Linked DNA regions of Homo sapiens: all the other regions are linked to region 3. Evidence: promoter capture Hi-C in 16 types of primary human blood cells and fetal thymus (Javierre and others, 2016). All regions are on one chromosome and are shown on one strand. Each heading gives the region's core, a stretch centred on a gene start or on the middle of the fragment in contact. The rest is flanking DNA. Distances are from core to core; before and after follow the strand shown.

Region 1 (3,372 bases), core at 152-2,651, 320 kb before region 3:
TTCCTACTTTGTTATTTTTCACTTCTCCCCACATGGACCTCTATTTCTGCCAGGTCCATGTACTTTTTTATTTTTTCCATACTCCCTGTTCTTGACTTTGCCATTACCCCAGTCTGGAAAGCCCTTTCTAGCTCCACTTCCTTTTCTCCTTCTAGATTCTAGCCCAAGCTCAATAGCTGTAAATATTTTTTAACCGTTAGCAAGCCAGTTTTGTATTGCTTCCTGGCTGTGTCTAATGTGAATATCTTGGTTCCCCAGCTAGAATGTAGACTGGTGACAGGGGATTCTGTTTTTCTTCGCCTTCTTTTTTTTAGAGAAAAAGCTCACAGCAGGTGTAATATGACTGTCCTCACATGACTGTTGTAATTTACTTTATTCATTCCAGTAACTCATACTCTATAACAGGATTGCCTTTTTTGTTACCTCTTTGTCTACCTTACATTAAAAGCAGATTTCTTGTTGCTCTGGTGATGCCTTACGGTGTATATTAGCACAAATTTTTATAATAAGGACTCAACTGATACCAACCAATAGTAAATACAAGGAGTCCCATCACGTGAGCATCTGACTTACGTAGATTCAAGCTTGTGGACTCAGCAAAAAAGAAAAGTACAAAAACAAAACCTCTCTGAAGTTGGCAGCCATTACCTTGTTGAGACTCAGACTTCATTTCCACGGTCCCGAGGAAAGAAAGAGGAAGTGGGTGTTGGCAAAATGAAAGAGAAGTACGTTGGTTCTGGGATTTTGAGCCCAGGAGAGTTGAGGGCATTAAAAGACAGTTTAACTGTGTCCACTTTTCTCCTTACCATTCATCTTGAGGATGATCAGCACCTTGTGCTCTAAATTTTACTTAGCTAAGTGTCCTTAATGAATTGTTGAAATGAGAATTGTCCCTTTTTAGGTGAAAAACCATTAACCTATTAGAAAAAGCTTTCACATACGGTATTTATATGTGATTAAATATTGACCTTGGGATAAAGAGCATCCTATTTTGAAAGGAAGAATTTAAAAAAAATTTTTCTCAGTTATTTAACTGTTCATTAGAATAGTCTTGAAACCTGATCTGTCATTCCCCTTACCCCCAATTCTGTGTTTAGATTCTCTTCCTGGACATTCTGTTGCCCTCTGTTTAGCTGTTGCCTTTAAAAGTAAGGCAACCAATGATGAAATCTTCAGCATTCTGAAAGATGTACCAAATCCTAACCAGGATGATGACGACGGTAAGTGGAATTCAGTATTTCTTAAGTGGAACTATGTATAGGCCAACTTAAAGCATAAACATAACTCTGGCAACATGATGCTCTTAAAGCAATATATCTATATCTGTTTGACCTGTTCAGACTGTTGTTCTTAGCACCCCAGGTATTTTCCCCTTATATAAAAAGAGATCCTAACATTTCTGTGATATAGCTTACTTAAGAATATAAACTTCATCGTAAATACAAAGTGAAATATGTTACCATTCAAGGATTTTTAACCCCTGCTTTCACCATAGAGAAGTTCCTGAATAGAAAGACTTGGTGTGTTATAAAGTTGGATGTTTTCTCCAAGTTAAGCTATTAGAATAATAATGTTTAACATTTACTCAGTTATATACCATGTAATTCCAACCAGAATCCTAGGAGTTTTTCTGGGCAAGAGTGGGAAAATTGACAAAATAATTTATACAGTTGCCTGAATCAATAAATGGATATGCACATAGAAAAACTACTGAATCAAAATAAGATATTAGTGGCCTTTGGGTATTTATTACTGGGATTTTGTTTGGATATCTCTAAGAAATTTGTATTATGATATTAGAGAAAATGAGTTTAGAAAGAATAAGCCAAAATGATGGCATTAAATTCAGATGTTGTCAGACATCTTAAGACATAAGCTTAAGTGTTTTTTTTTTTTTTTTTTGGTATTAATATAATAGAGGCTATGAATAAGGAAACCTGTGTGATTTTTTTTTTTCAAGGAATGGATGATAGAATTAAGACAGTCACATAAAACTAAGACTTAAAATTACAAGTGGTTTCATATTTTCAGTGTTTGAAATCAGTGACGGTCTTTTATTGTTTATTAGAACCAAAAAACATTACACAAATATCTGTGTATAGATGTGAGCAACCATCTATTTAGCATTTGAGGTAAGGCACCAAGGAATTGCTGTGCTTACATTTTTCTGTTTTACTATAAAATATTTTTCAGATGAAGGATTCAGTTTTAACCCATTGAAAATAGAAGTCTTTGTACAGACTCTGCTACACTTGGCAGCCAAATCATTCAGCCACTCCTTCAGTGCTCTTGCAAAGTATGTATGAGTACAGAGCCTTGCTTGAGAGTTTGGAATTTTGCTTGGTGAACACCAGTGGTATGGTAATTTTTACCTAAGATTGTTGAATATGAAGATCTTAATAGTGTATAATTGGACACAGTGGGTTTGGGTTTGTGGTAGCTGAAATCCATATCCTAAGGCTTCCGTCAGTCTGTTTGTACAGTTGGCATATGTACATGGTAAGTGCTTTTTTTCATATAGACATTTAAAGAAACTAGTGAAAAACCTAGGTTTTTGGGACAGTCATATGCAGTTGGAAGTTCCCACGCTAAATATCTTTCCAAAGCAATGTAAGAAGAAATTAGAATCAGCTACACTGTTGGGAGTCACGCAAAGGTTGGCATCTGAAGACAGGTATTTTTAACTTGTCAGACAGGGTCCAAAGGAAGAAAGAGCACATAGATTTTCCTTCTGCCAAGCAGAGAAACTGGACATCTCACCCCATCTCTGTCTCCAAGGCTTTATATTACTTGCAGGGTTCCCACAGAAGATGCAGTTTGAATATTTCACCATGTTTGAAGACAGTTCCTTAGTCCTTACCTATTCTTTTAAACTGTAGCCCTGGGCTAACGGTAGTATATTGTAAATGTCTTGAGATTTTGTGACAGCTTCCTTAAAAACTATCAATCTGTGATCACACTTTTTGCATCCTTAATGGTTAATACTTAGTTATTTTGCATTTATATATTGCATTATAAATTGAGTAACATTGAAAAGGCTTTGAAAACACTAAAATGTTTAATGAATAAGTATATATGGTATTTTTTTCCCATCATTATCAAAAGGTTTCATGAAGTCTTCAAAACCCTAGCTGAAAGTGATGAAGGAAAGTTACATGTGCTAAGAGTTATGTTTGAGGTCTGGAGGAACCATCCACAGGTAAAAATTATTTAATTAGACATGTTGAAGCTCTGATTGTATGGGTATAAAAATAAGGCCGTTAATTGCCATTGTTTTGTTTGTAAAACATGAAATTTGACTCTGCCTAGATAATGGTTTTTAGATCTAATTCTTTCAGTGCTATGGGAGTAATGATGTTTCATTCATTCTTG
Region 2 (3,277 bases), core at 501-3,000, 300 kb after region 3:
TGGTGCTAGGATAATTGGCTACCCACATGCAGAAGAATGAAGTTGCACTCCTTACGCATACCTTACCCAAAAATTAACTCAAATGGATTGTAAATGTAAGAGCTAAAACTAAAAAACTTTCAGAAGAAAAACAGAAGTATTTGTGATTTGAGCTTAGATATGACAGCAAAAGCATAAGCAATAAAAGAAAAAAGTAAGACTTCATCAAAATTAAAAACTTTTATGCTTTAAAGAACACCCTCAATAACATGAAAAGATAACCCATTGAATGGAAGAAAATATTTGCAAATCGTGGATCAAATAAGAAACTTGTATCTAGAATACATAACAAACTCTTACATCTCAATAGGAAGAATTCAAATTATTCAACTTAAAAATGGCGCCGGGTGCAGTGGCTCATGCCTATAATCCCAGCACGTTGGGAGGCTGAGGTGGGAGGATTGCTTGGAACCCAGGAATTGGAGACTAGCTGGGCAACATAGGGAGGCTCTGTCTCTACAAAACTAAAAAAATTAGGGAGTGGTGGCTTGCGCTTGCAGTCCTAGCTACTCGGGAATTTGAAGTGGGAGGATTCCTTTAAGCCCCAGGAATTCTAGGGTGCAGTGAGCCGTTGTTATCACACCACTGCATTCCAGCCTGGGCGACAAAGTGAGGCCCCGTTCCAGAAATAAATAAATAAAAGGCAAAGGCTCTGAACAGACATTTTTGCAAAGAAGATATGTCAATGGCCAATAAGTACATGAAAAGATGCTCAATATCTTTAGCCATCAGGGAAATGCAAACGAAAACCACAATGAGATACTTCACATCTACCAGGATGGCTATGAATTTTTTTTTAAAAATAGATAATAACAAATGTTGGTAAGCATAAGGAGAAATTGGAACCCTCATACATGCTGATGAGAATGTAAAATGTTGTAGCTGCAGTGGAAAAATCTGGCAGTTCCTCAAACAGTTAAAACTAGAGTTACCATACAACCCAGCAATTCCACTCCTAGTTATATCCCCAAGAAAAACAAAGACATTATGTCCACACAAAAACTTGAGTGTTCATAATATCATTATTCATAATAGTCCAAAAGTAGAAACAACTCAAATGTTTGCTAACTGATAACATGGATAATAATTGCATAAAGTAAAATGTATACACATACTATAGACTATATTCGGCAATAAAAGTTGAGGCAGTCCTGATCCATGCTGCAATATGAATGCATTATCTTGCATTCATATTGATAACACATGAATTTTGAACCCATTATCTTAAGTAAAAGAAGCCCATCACAAAGAACCACATATTGCAAGTTCCATTTATGTGAAATGTCCAAACTTACAGAGACAGAAAGTAGATTTCGTGGTTGCTTAGGCTGGGGGAACTTGGGGAGAAATAGGGACTGTCAGCTAACTCTTCTTGGAGTGATGAAAATGTTCCAAAGTTAGATTGTGGAGATGATTGTATGAATCTGTGAATATACTAAAAAATTTGAATTGTATACTTTAATTCATTTTATTTTATTTTTTTAGGATCTCAGTCTGTTGTAGTGGCAAAATCATGCTCACTATAACCTCAAACTCCTGGGCTCAAGTGATCCTCCTGCCTCAGCTTCCTGAGTAGCTGGGACTACAGGCGTGCATCCCCCACGCCGGGCTAATTTTTAAATTTTGTGTAGAGATGGAGTCCCCTTATGCTGTCCAGGCTGGTCTCAAACTCCTGGGCTCAAGGGATCCTCCTGTCTTGGCCTCCCAAAGCATTGGGATTATAGGTGTGAGCCACCATGCCTGGCTGAATTGCACCCTTTACAAGGGTGAATTGTGTGGTATGTGGATTCTATCTCAATAAAGCCACAAAAAGTAAAGAGTCTCTGGATGTTTAAAAAAAAAAAAAAAGTGCACTCTTCCCAGGCAGGCACTTGAGGTTTCTGTGACTTGGGGCAGGGAGGGAGGTGATGAGGTTTGCTCTCCCATTCTCTATTTTCTCTGAGATATCAGGGAAAGGAGGCAAGAGAGGGGAGAGGTATCAGAACACTGCTTTCTGTGACTCCTTGCGTGAGGTTACAGTCTTCTTTCTGCTGGCATCACTTCTTTTGTTCCTATCTGGCTGTCTGTTCCTCTGCCAGGCAGGTGTCTGAGTGCTGGCTTTCCAGTGGGTCCTTCTGACACAATCCTCTGGTGAGCAAGTTCTGACTGAACTTCATCCATCTACTTTTTTCCTCAGCCTCTTAGGATGATGAAATTCTCCCAACCTTCCTCAGTGCCCACACAACCCATGGAAAACCCACATCTCCTTGCCAAGCCACCCTGTGGGAATGCCACTGGCTACCCTAGTCTTCCTCTCTTCCGCTCAGCCCTCTCTCGACCTGCCAGCAACACTGGCCTGGGCATTGGGCAGTTCAATGGCGCTGAAGTTTTCAGATGAAAGGCATTGCCAGTCCCTTACTTGGTGAAGGGGAAAGGGTCTGGAGGAATACTTAAGCTACCCCCGATCTTATGGAGGGAGGGGAACTTATTTAAGCCTTCCCGGCTCCCCCATGGGATGAGAAGAGATGGCTGCTGCTCATGAATTCTGCTCTCACTTGCCTCCTCTTCTTCCCTGTGGTGGGGGTGACTTGTGAGAGAAAGTGGATGCTGGAGCGCTGGTTCTGCAGAAGTCCTGTGAAATTATGACTTCCAGCAGCTCCTGCATGGAGATACCGGCCCACATCTGAAGGTCCTTTGAACTCAGAATGGAAGCTCTAAAATCAAATCCAAGACTACTTGGCTTTTGCACTACTGAGTTTGAATTAACCCCAGGTGGTCTTCTCCACGCTTAGTGAGAAGATGGTGGCCTGCAGCTGCTTCTCCTCCCTCCACCCTTTACCTGAGCGGTGGAAATGACTTGAGCTTTTAGAGATGTGCGTGGGACACTTTCTCTAATTTTCAGAGACCATCTAGATAGAATAATCTTTATGGAAGAGGATATGGATTTGCTCTGATTGGTTGGGCCATTGTAGCAAGAATTAAAGAGAGAGGAGTTGAATGTGCAGGTTTCTGACACTACTCCAATCTCAAAACTTTCCCTCCCTCCCTCCTCCTTTCTTCCCTCCCCACTTTCTTCCCTTTTTTCTTCTCAGTCCATTTTCTCGTCGTTTGTCTGTAATCTCTTATTTCACAGAAAAAACTCAGAACTGGCTTTTCTTTGCAGATGGGGTGAACACCTTCCATCTTGCCTCCCCTGCCCTGAGATGCTGGCAGAGTCCTTCTGCTAGATCCTGGAGGCCTGGTTGAGTGGCCCAGGGTG
Region 3 (3,735 bases), core at 640-3,139:
TGATGCTAAGGATTAATACCACCTCCTCCGGGAGCCATCAGGTTACCACTCTCTAGCACAGAGCTACCACGTTTAAGACTCCTTCAGCACCATCCCCCCTTTTCCTGCACGAGGACACTTGCATGCTGTTTGGTATTAAAAGCCCTCTGCAACTGTTCCCAACCTACAGCACCAAAGTAGCCCCCCACCATGCTATGACTCCACTCTAGCCAGACTGATGATGTAGCACAAGATGGTGGGCTGTGGAGTCAGACCTATCTGGGTGTAAATCCTAGCTCTGCTTCTTGCTGGACGTGCAGCTTAAGATTCCTGAGCTCCTCATCTGTAAAATGATTAAATTATCACCTACTTCAGAAAGTTGTCTGAGAATTAGAGAAATAATATCAAGCCCCTTAAAGCAGATCCTCAATAATCGCTTGTTGGCTCATGAAACCGATTTTTTGTTTTGTTTTGTTTTGTTTGGTAAAAGCCCTCATTGCATAGCCCTGTGGTTCTCATAACCTTAGTTACAGACCTTTTGTAACCCTGAGAACATCTGTCTCCATTTTCCCTTGTCATAAAGACGTCTGCTGAGACTACAAACGGAGTCAGGGAACTACTACCAGAAAGTTTTTCTTTTCCCATATTCCTTCTAAAACTTTCATCTTCAAATGTTAACTCACTCAGTATTTTAAAAGCTGATATATAATTGGTTTACAACTAAATTTGGGTTGTTTGCCACTAAAACTTAGGTAAAATAGGAAAGGGGGCACTTTCTTAACTTCCATAAAACTTCATGTTAATACATAGAATTTCAAGTTTTTCTTTAACAAATTGTTCTTAGTTTTTGGTGCTTCTTGTCAGTACGATCTTCTTAGATTGTATTTGATTTGACACATTATGTATTTACTTATTGTACGCTGAATATAACGTCATTCCCCGGTGTTCTGCAAAGCACAACACTCATCCCGATCTGGTGCTCTAACCCCTGGGACCCTTTGGGCCAGACCATGACAAAGGCTGCCTGCCAGGTTTCAGCGAAACTTAGACCACCAAGAATTTACACACTTCACAGGGGTGCCCTAAGGAATAAATGAGATTAAAAAAAAAAGTCTGCGGGGAAACCCTGAGGCCCTATTAGAAATGCTAATCGTTTCCTTCTCTAGCTCCTATTAAAATGTTAGAAAACCGAGGGAGACTCTCCTGAACAGGGTGGGGATGCTCGGCTGCTCTGTGGCTTAGCAAGCGACCCCAGCTGCCCTGCCAGGGCCGGTCGGCCGCGATTCCGTCCCGACGGGGGGGATCCTCGGCGGCACTACGGACGCCAGTCTGCCAAGGAGGCAGCGGGGTTCGGCCTGTTGGCCCCAGACTGTGTGGCAGGCAAAAGGTGAACGTCAAAGCCTGTCCCCGGCTTCTTCACATCTCGCGCCTCCGCGGGCGTCGGGCCGCCCCCGTGAGCCTCCCCGGATGGACTGGGTTTTAGGGACCCCCGCAGCCGGACTGCAAAGCTTCCCACCAACCCTTCCCGCGAACCTCCCAGCCCGGGCCGCAAGCCCAGCTCCGGGCGCGACGACGTGGGGCCGGAGGTAGAAGGAGTCTCAGCGCGGCGGGGGCCGGGGGGCGGGGAAGCCCCCCCACCCACGAGAAAGGTCTTACATCAGCCGCCCCACGTGCAATCGGAGAGAGGGAGGAAGTCGCTCCTCTATTCGGGCTGCGCCTTTCCCCAGCCTCCGCCCCGCCCGCCGCGAGTCTCCCCGCCCCGCCTTGGTGCAGCCGCGGCCGCCGAGCCGAGCAGCGCCGCGCGGGGCCGAGTGGAGCCGAGCAGCTGCCGCGCCGCGTCGCCGGTTTAAGCGCAGTGCAGGCCGCGGCCGGGGGCGGCGGTAGTGAGCCCAGCGCTGCGCTCCAGCCCCCTTTTCCCTCCATGGTTTCTCTCCGCTCCCGTGAGTAACTTGGCTCCGGGGGCTCCGCTCGCCTGCCCGCACGCCGCCCGCCACCCAGGACCGCGCCGCCGGCCTCCGCCGCTAGCAAACCCTTCCGACGGCCCTCGCTGCGCAAGCCGGGACGCCTCTCCCCCCTCCGCCCCCGCCGCGGAAAGTTAAGTTTGAAGAGGGGGGAAGAGGGGAACATGGACATGAAGAGGAGGATCCACCTGGAGCTGAGGAACCGGACCCCGGCAGCTGTAAGCAGAGACCCCTCTGGGTGCCCTCTCCCCCGATGACTTGCATGTAATGGTGGCCACCTGCGGGGCCCGGGCTGAGGGTTCGCCGGCCCCGGCGCGGGGAAGAGCGCAGCTCGTGGGCTCGGACGGGGAAGGCGGGCGGGCGCGGAGGGGGGAGCGAGCGCGCGAGGATTAACTCTTTGCCGCCCGCGGGCCCCTGGGGCGGCCGGGGGGAGGCAGCGGTGTGGGGGAAAGCAAACTTTGAGCGCTTCGCCCGCCGGGGTCTTTCCCCTGAGGGAGCGCGTGTGCAAGTGGCCGGCGGCGAGAGAGGGAGGCGGGGGTTGTGTAACGCTGGGAGCCATGTTTGCAGCCTCCCGGGATGCGCGGCCGGGCGGAGGCCCGGCCTGCCGAGGAGCTGCGCGGCCATCCCCGCCTGGGCCAGGCCGGGCTCCGCGCGCCCCGGGCCGGCCGGGGAAGGGGCGCGGGTGGGGCGGGACGGGGGCTCTTGTGGCCGGAGCTCGCCGTGGGCGCCGGCCCGGCCGAGGTCAGCAGTCGTGGGGCGAGGAGGGGGCTTTTTTCTTTTGAAGGGAGCGAGAAGCCCCCTCGGGCGCCTGGAGGCCTGGGCGGGCGCGGCCCGGCGCGCGGAGCGGGGGAGGGGCGGGCCAGGGCGGCGGAGGTGGCGCAACCGCCGCCCCTCCCGAGGCCAAGTTTGAAAAAAGGACGTGGTTCCCGCCATTTTTCAAGCCCAAAAATAAAACTTTCTCCCCCGTTCTCTCGCTCCCTCTTCGCCCTCGGCCTTGCCCACTCCTGCCTCCCAGGGGCAGCCCGGGTCGACCAAGGCCAACCGTTGTGGCGACGGCCTCGCCCTTCCCCCTGTGCCGCGGCGGCGGCGCCCGGGGCCCCTGCCCTTGCCCCGGGAGGCTGGCCCCTCCGTGTGGGCGGGCGGCGGCTCTTCACGCCAGCCGGGGCGCGCCACAGGCCGCCGCAGCGCCATGTTGGCGGGTGCCCGTCTCCCTGCGCCTGGTGAGCCGGCCCACGAGCTTGGCCTTGCCCGCCCGCCCTCGGCGCTGGCTGGCGGCCGCCTCTTCCCGCGCCGAGCCCTCGGTCTGTTTCCCCCCGCCCCGCCGGGGCTTGGCTCCCACTGGCGGGAGCCGCGCGCCGCGGCCGCCGCCGACTCATCCCGTCGCGGGCGCGCTGCCGACCCCCTCCCCCTTCTTAAAAGGGCAACGGCAGGCGGCCGCCCCCGCCCCGCGCCGGGCGCGCGGGATTTTGGGCGGGCTTCGGCTCGGCTCGTGGGCCGGGCGGCCTCTGGCCTCCCACGTGCTTGAGAGCGGCCTGGTGCGGTCGGCCGCGCGCCTTGCGGGCTGTAGGGGCCTGAGGGCGGCCCTCTTGCGGCGCGGCTGCGTGGGCGTGGGTCCGACCTGTGGGAATTGCCCCATTCGTCTCCCGGGTTTAGCGCGGCTGCCCGCCGTCGCGAGCCCCCCCCCCGCCGCGGACCGGCGCGGGCCAGTTAGCGCCGCGGCCGGGTGCCCCAGCGGGCCAGTGGCTTTCCCGCGGAGGGCGGCCCCGCGGGGCCTCCCGACCCGCTCTGGGCTAAG

Evidence for each region. The method cuts DNA at HindIII sites, captures the fragments that hold promoters and counts their contacts. A CHiCAGO score of 5 or more calls a contact.
Region 1: a contact is called between a fragment that was not itself captured here and the fragment with the promoter of ANP32B in region 3, in 1 of 17 cell types (erythroblasts). The highest score is 7.5, in erythroblasts.
Region 2: a contact is called between a fragment that was not itself captured here and the fragment with the promoter of ANP32B in region 3, in 1 of 17 cell types (non-activated CD4 T cells). The highest score is 7.2, in non-activated CD4 T cells.

The regions. Positions count from the first base shown.
Region 1 is chr9:97,659,849-97,663,220 of GRCh38, forward strand. NCBP1 (nuclear cap binding protein subunit 1) reads left to right here. Exons shown (of 23, transcript NM_002486.5): 16 at 1,098-1,220; 17 at 2,194-2,296; 18 at 3,106-3,199. It also overlaps a transcript of XPA not described here. Among named protein-coding and RNA genes, the nearest start is that of NCBP1, 28 kb to the left of the region's middle. The HindIII fragment of the contact is 946 bases long and covers 929-1,874 here.
Region 2 is chr9:98,276,670-98,279,946 of GRCh38, forward strand. No RefSeq gene overlaps it. Among named protein-coding and RNA genes, the nearest start is that of TBC1D2, 23 kb to the left of the region's middle. RefSeq lists an enhancer at 3,070-3,277. The HindIII fragment of the contact is 5,565 bases long and covers 1-3,277 here.
Region 3 is chr9:97,981,452-97,985,186 of GRCh38, forward strand. ANP32B (acidic nuclear phosphoprotein 32 family member B) reads left to right here and starts at 1,890. Exons shown (of 7, transcript NM_006401.3): 1 at 1,890-2,158. The coding sequence starts at 2,105. All of the region lies in intron 2 of LOC124902226 (a long non-coding RNA gene), which reads right to left. RefSeq lists silencers at 1,460-2,119, 2,270-2,359, 2,550-2,629, 2,700-2,899, 2,910-2,959 and 2 more and an enhancer at 1,760-2,642. The HindIII fragment of the contact is 9,132 bases long and covers 1,486-3,735 here.